Regions from separate parts of the Homo sapiens genome. Here region 2 is linked to region 1. Evidence: promoter capture Hi-C in human tissues and cell types (Jung and others, 2019). All regions are on one chromosome and are shown on one strand. The core of a region is centred on a gene start or on the middle of the fragment in contact, and the rest is flanking DNA. Distances in the headings are between cores, read along the strand shown. Region 1 holds the start of RPN2 (ribophorin II). Region 2 overlaps KIAA1755.

Region 1 (2,700 bases), core at 138-2,637:
GAATTCAAAGTCAAAGCCTATCAGAAACTGCTAATGGACAGAAAGACCTAAGAGAGAGCGGAGTCAAGATACTAATGCTGAATCCCCAATGCCTTGTGCACAGGCGGGTACCCAATATATGAAGATCTAGTGAATGGCTGCGACTAGCATTTTCCCACCTAGACCGTAAATTCCCCTAAAACAGCACCTGTGTCAGAATCCTAATCTTCTCACTCCATGTTAACGAGAGCAGTAACTTTTCTGACTAAAAGTTGAGCACTTAATATGTTAGGTATGCCCACGCTATGCTGTGCTTTGCACACACCAAATCATTAAATCCTCACAACATCTAAGCAAGGTGGCTATTTTCTGCATTTCACAGACCAGGAAAGTAAGGCTCAGAAGTAGTTACCTGCCCTAGGACACATCACTGAAAATCAAACTTCAGGCAATTTGAATCCAAAGTCTGCTTTTAACCACTTTACTATCCTGAACTTCTCAAATAATGAAACGGTGAGCCACTGACTCATTCATGTGTCACCCTGGGCAAGTAAGTTCCCTTCCGTGGGATTCCAACTTCTCATCTGTCAAATGGTAGTAACAAGAGTACATGCTTCCAAAGTTACGATGAGGCTACATGAAATTCCACCCTGCACAGCGTCTACTCAGTAACTTCCAATGCAGTTAACTTAGTTCTTACCTAGGGCCATGCACTGTTCTAAACTAAGCACGAAGATTATTTCACTTAATAAAGCAACTCAACGAGGCAGATAACGTGACTAATTTGACTAACTTATTTTACAGATGAGAAACTGAGGTGTAGAGGGGTTAAGTAACCTGCTTTGGGTTACACAATGAATACGTGGCCGACTGCAAGTTTGCACCTAGAGTGTCACTTGAGAACTTATGCTCCAGGCTCCCAGAGAGAAGTGAGGGTTTTCTTTGCCCCTTTCACTGAATGGGAAACTACAGCACAAAGAAGGACAATCTGCCCAAAACCTCACACGGAGTAAGGGGCAGCGCCGGGACCAGAACCTTAGGCCGCCTGGCCCAGAAGCCCGCGCGAGTGAAATGAATGAGGCCAGACCTAGGCTAAGCGCGTCCGCGGTCCCCACGGCTGAGCCTCGGGGCGACCCGTAGCTCCGCGCTGCACCCCTCCCCCAGGCACCAACCCCGCCAGGTCGCGGGCACTCCCACCAGCTCGCAGCCCTCCTTCGGACCCTCGATCCGAGAGCGCCCCAGCCAGAGCTTGTGCCCATGCCCCTGTCCCGCAGGGGAAGGGGATCCCGCCTGGCCGGCTCTCGAGCGGCGACTAGTAACCTCCCGCGGGCGACAGCCCTCTCCCCAAAGCCACGCGCAACTCCTCACCCGGCGGCGCCATTCCTCCGAGCAGGTCCCGCCGGAGTCCGAGCCGCGGGCTGACTTCCGCTCGGGAAAGTGGCTCCAAGAGCCCGCCACAGGGGACGCCAGGGACTCGCGGCAGGCTCTGCGGGCCAGGATGAGTTCTAAGCACAGGTCAGTGTCCGCGGCCCCGCTGAGCTTCGACGCTTCCAGCAGCCGCGGCCGGGATCCCAGTCCTCCCGCTCACAGGGCCTTGCAGTTCCCGAGGACAGACCCGCCTCTCCCCCGCGCCCAGGCCCACTTGGAACCGACCGTCTCGCAACGCTCCTATTCCGGGAGCTACCGGGACGCGGTTGGGCCAGGCCTCGGGGTGGGCCCGAGACGGGGCCGCTTCTGATTGGCCTGTCTGCTGTCACTCACTCGTCTTTCTGCTGCCCGGCCCATTTTAAAGGAACAGGAAGGGTCTCGTCGGGAGGGGATAGCTTAGAAGGGATTTTTTTTTCCTCTTTAGAAAATTGTGGCAGTTTCTGGCCGGGCGCAGTGGCTCACGCCTGTAATCCCAGAACTTTGGGAGGCCGAGGCGGGCGGATTACCTGAGGTGAGGAGTTCGAGATCAGCCTGGGCAACACGGTGAAACCCCGTCTCTACTAAAAATACAAAATTAGCCGGGCGTGGTCACACATGCCTGTAATCCCAGCTACTCGGGAGCCTGAGGCAGGAGAATCGCTTGGACCTGGGAGGCGGAGGATGCGGTGAGCCAAGATCGCGCCATTGCACTCCAGCCTGGGCAACGAGTAAATCTCCGTCTCACCAAAAAAAAAAGAAAAAGAAAATTATGTCAGTTTTTTCCAAAGATTATCAGTGGGGTTGTTAATAACTGACCTACGAGTGACGTTTTATCTGATTTGCAGAGCAATGCAGTGACTCATAGAGAACATATTAGGCCAGTTTTACAGGCTCAACATGGAGGTGGCTCATCCAGGAACACCGCTCTAATAACTAGCGCCAACTACTGAATGTTTACAGTATAACCCGACACTGTGCCGAACGCTCTACAAGCATTATTTCTTTTCTTTCCTTTTTTATTGATACGGGATCTTGCTCTGTCGCCCAGGCTGGAGTGCAGTGGTGCGATCACAGCTTACTGCAGCCTCGACATCCTGGGCTCAAGCAATCTTCCCTCCCGCCTCAGCCTCCGGAGTAGCTGGGACTGCTGCCTTGCGACACCACGCCCAGCTAATCTTTAAAATTATTTTTGGTAGATACCGCGTCTCGCTTTGTTGCCCAGGCTGGTCTGGAACTCGGGCTCAAAGGATCCTTCGGCCTTAGCCTCCCAAAGTGCTGAGATTACAGGCTAATCCCATTTTAAAGAGAAGGAAA
Region 2 (2,873 bases), core at 334-2,833, 1.0 Mb before region 1:
TGCCAAAGTCCTATTGGCCTCCTGGGCCCCCCAGAGGGGAACAGAACAGAACTTTCCAGGCAGGCTCTCCACCCCAGGAAGCTGGCCAGGCTGCAGAGGCTGAAGACGGCAAAGGCTCCCACAAGCTGCCTGACCCTGCCCGCGAGCATTTGCTTGCCACCACCTTCTTCCGGCAGCAGCCCCCCAGGCAGAGCCAGGTCCCTCGCCTCACTGGGGGCAGCTTCTCCTCAGAGGGGACAGACTCACAGACATCCCTTGAGGACTCACCCCAGACAAGTCCCCTTGCCTCCCTCTAGCTGAGAGGCCCCTTCAGTCGCACCAGCCTCCAGGAGCACTGGGCCAGGGCCCAGCTGGAGGGGTAGCTGGGAGCTCTGGTCAGTCCCAGTGAGACGTCACCATGGAGCACTGGTTTTACATTCTGCCTCTGCTGGGAGGATGAGAACTGTCGACCTGCCCCTGGCTCCAGAAAACTCCTGGAAGACCCGATCTTCACCCATGCAGAATAGCAAGAGTGGGCGTCAGAACCAGGGCACAATAAATGGTGTGATTGGCTCCATCCCTCCAGGCTCTCATTGTGGAAAGACCTGTCGGCACAGACCCCTCCAGAGGTCTCGCTCGCAGGCAGGCAGACACCCACCTGCAGCTCAGGAACATACACAGCTCTCCCCTCGGGTACGAGGGCCAGTGTTGCCCTTAGGCAGAATCCTCGGGGAGATTCGGGAGTGCTTCCTTGTCTTGGATTCCAGGAAAATGGACCCTGAGATGAGGATTTAAGGATCAGTGTGTTTGGTGCTGATCCAGGAACCTCTGCTGGGGGAGTAGGAGGCGAATCTGCAAAGGGAATAAAGAGTATGTTGTCAAGCAAATTTTCTTTTTTTTAATTTTTAAAACTTCATTGTATTTTATGTTTAGAGATGGGGCCTCACTACATTGCCCAGGCTGGTCTCAAACTCCTGGGCTCAAGTGATCCTCTTGCCTTGGCCTGCCAAAGTGCTGGGATTGCCTTTTCCGCCCACCCCCCCCGACCCCACCAGAGACAGGGTCTCACTCTGGTGTCCAGGCTGGAGTGCAGTGGTGCAATCATAGCCTTAAATTCCTGGGTTCAACCAATCCTCCCACCTCAGCCTCCTAAGTAGCTGGGACTACAGTTATGCACCACCATGCTCAGCTTATTATTTATTTATTTTTTGTAGACATGGGGTCTTGCTATGTTGCCCAGGCAGGCTGATCTCAAGCTCAAGTGATCCTCTGGACTCAGCCTCCCAAAGTGCTGGGATTATACGTATGAGCCACTGTGCCCCACCCTCATACAAATTTCCATGTTGGCAACTGTAGCTGGATCTTTCTGGAGATCTCTGAAAGACAGCATGGAATCCTTGAACACCCCCTGAGGCGTGAGGCATCCAGAGCATTTATCTGCCAACCCTCAGGAGCTGGCACTCGTAGACAGCACGCACAGCCAGCTCCATTGGTCTTGGCAAAGAGAATTGCCTCCTGGAGCCAGAGGCCGGTTCCTGTGCTTAGAAAGGAAGGACATGTCTTCTGTGCTCCCTGTCTCACAAGGCCTCTTCAGCAGGCATGGGACCTTCATTCTCAAGTTCAAGGAACCCTGTGGAACCTTGTCCTTGTCCTCCAGAGAGAATCCTCTCCGCCTTAGAGGTCCCTCCTCTCTCTCACCTCCCCACCAAGCCTCCCTGAACTCAATGTCTTCTGTCCCCTTCCCTGCCCAACTTCCACTTCTCTATGCCCAGCCTCTGTGGCCCAGTACCATTGGGGTTCTGTGGGCAGCTGGGTCCTGGTGGTTGGGGACCGTGGGAAGGGGCCTATCTGTCGGATCTTAGATGGAGCATCCAGAAGCCCCACCCTTCATACTGGCCAGAGTGGCCCCTGCCAGCGCCTCTCTGGAGTGTCATTAAGCTGAAAGTGTTTGCCTTACCTCTGCAGTAGGATGCATTACTGAAGTGGCCTCTTGGTCACCTAGCTCTGAATTTTCCTGGCTCCAGAAAGAGGCTGTGGGGCACAGGTCCCCCACAATGAGGCTGTGAAGGGGAGAGAGGCAGGCCTGGGCCAGGCACAGGAGGACAACTAGGGCTTCTCAGGAGCTGTCTCAGCCAAGAGTCACACACTTGATACCTAAAATGGCTTCAGGAATCTTCCAAGACTGAAGACTTCCCCAGGTGTGGTCTAGGGCCTGCCTGCCTCAGAGCCATGAGCAGAGCCGGTCAAAAGGCTTCCTAGGGAATCCTACCCCAGACATTAAAATAGACTCTTGGTGCTGGCAGGTGGCTGGAATCTGCGTTTGTAGCCAAGTGCTCTTCCTGTGTGACTCAGCAAAGTGGGGGTGCATTTGGGGAACACCCGGGGCTGGGGCCTGAGTCCTCCACCCAAAGCCAGGTTTGATTCTTGCATTCCCCTCCCTGCCTTCCATCCAGACAGGCCCAAAGATGCAAGAGGCGTTGATCAGCCCATCTCCATCCATGCCTGTTGCCTCAGAGAGGGCCGACGGCTTTTAAAATGCTGTTGCCATAGCAACAGCATCCAGCCAGTGGGTACCACAGGCAGGGAGCCACAGAAACTGGGGTGCTGGGATGGAAACTGACTTGTGAGAGACCACAGCTACTGCTAGAAGGAAGGGGGGCAAAGCGGGCACAGGTAATCTAAGAATACTTGGGCGGGAGGAGTCCCCAAGGTTACCTTGTGCATCCCTCTGTCCCCAGAAAGAACTGTACCCCAACAATCTCTCCCCTCACTGCATCCCCTGGGGAAGAAGGGAATGCAGAAATGAAATGTCATAATGAGTAACAATGTATAAAAATATCGAATAATAACAGCTAACATTTCTTTTGCATTTTCTTTGTGCCTAGCTTTGAGCT

What was found. Contacts are between HindIII fragments. The study calls those that stand out against the background at their distance.
Region 2: a contact is called between a fragment that was not itself captured here and the fragment with the promoter of RPN2 in region 1, in 1 of the 25 tissues and cell types used here (dorsolateral prefrontal cortex).

What each region holds. Positions count from the first base shown.
Region 1 is chr20:37,178,017-37,180,716 of GRCh38, reverse strand. It overlaps RPN2 (ribophorin II), which reads right to left and starts at 1,387. Exons shown (of 17, transcript NM_002951.5): 1 at 1,348-1,387. The coding sequence starts at 1,360. It overlaps MROH8 (maestro heat like repeat family member 8), which reads left to right and starts at 1,169. Exons shown (of 25, transcript NM_152503.8): 1 at 1,169-1,328; 2 at 1,330-1,494. The coding sequence starts at 1,237. RefSeq lists a silencer at 1,112-1,161 and enhancers at 712-1,269, 1,282-1,331, 1,682-1,761, 1,270-1,829. The HindIII fragment of the contact is 12,130 bases long and covers 1-2,700 here.
Region 2 is chr20:38,210,465-38,213,337 of GRCh38, reverse strand. KIAA1755 reads left to right here. Exons shown (of 14, transcript NM_001029864.2): 14 at 1-2,835. The coding sequence ends at 296. Among named protein-coding and RNA genes, the nearest start is that of TGM2, 47 kb to the right of the region's middle. The HindIII fragment of the contact is 7,984 bases long and covers 1-2,873 here.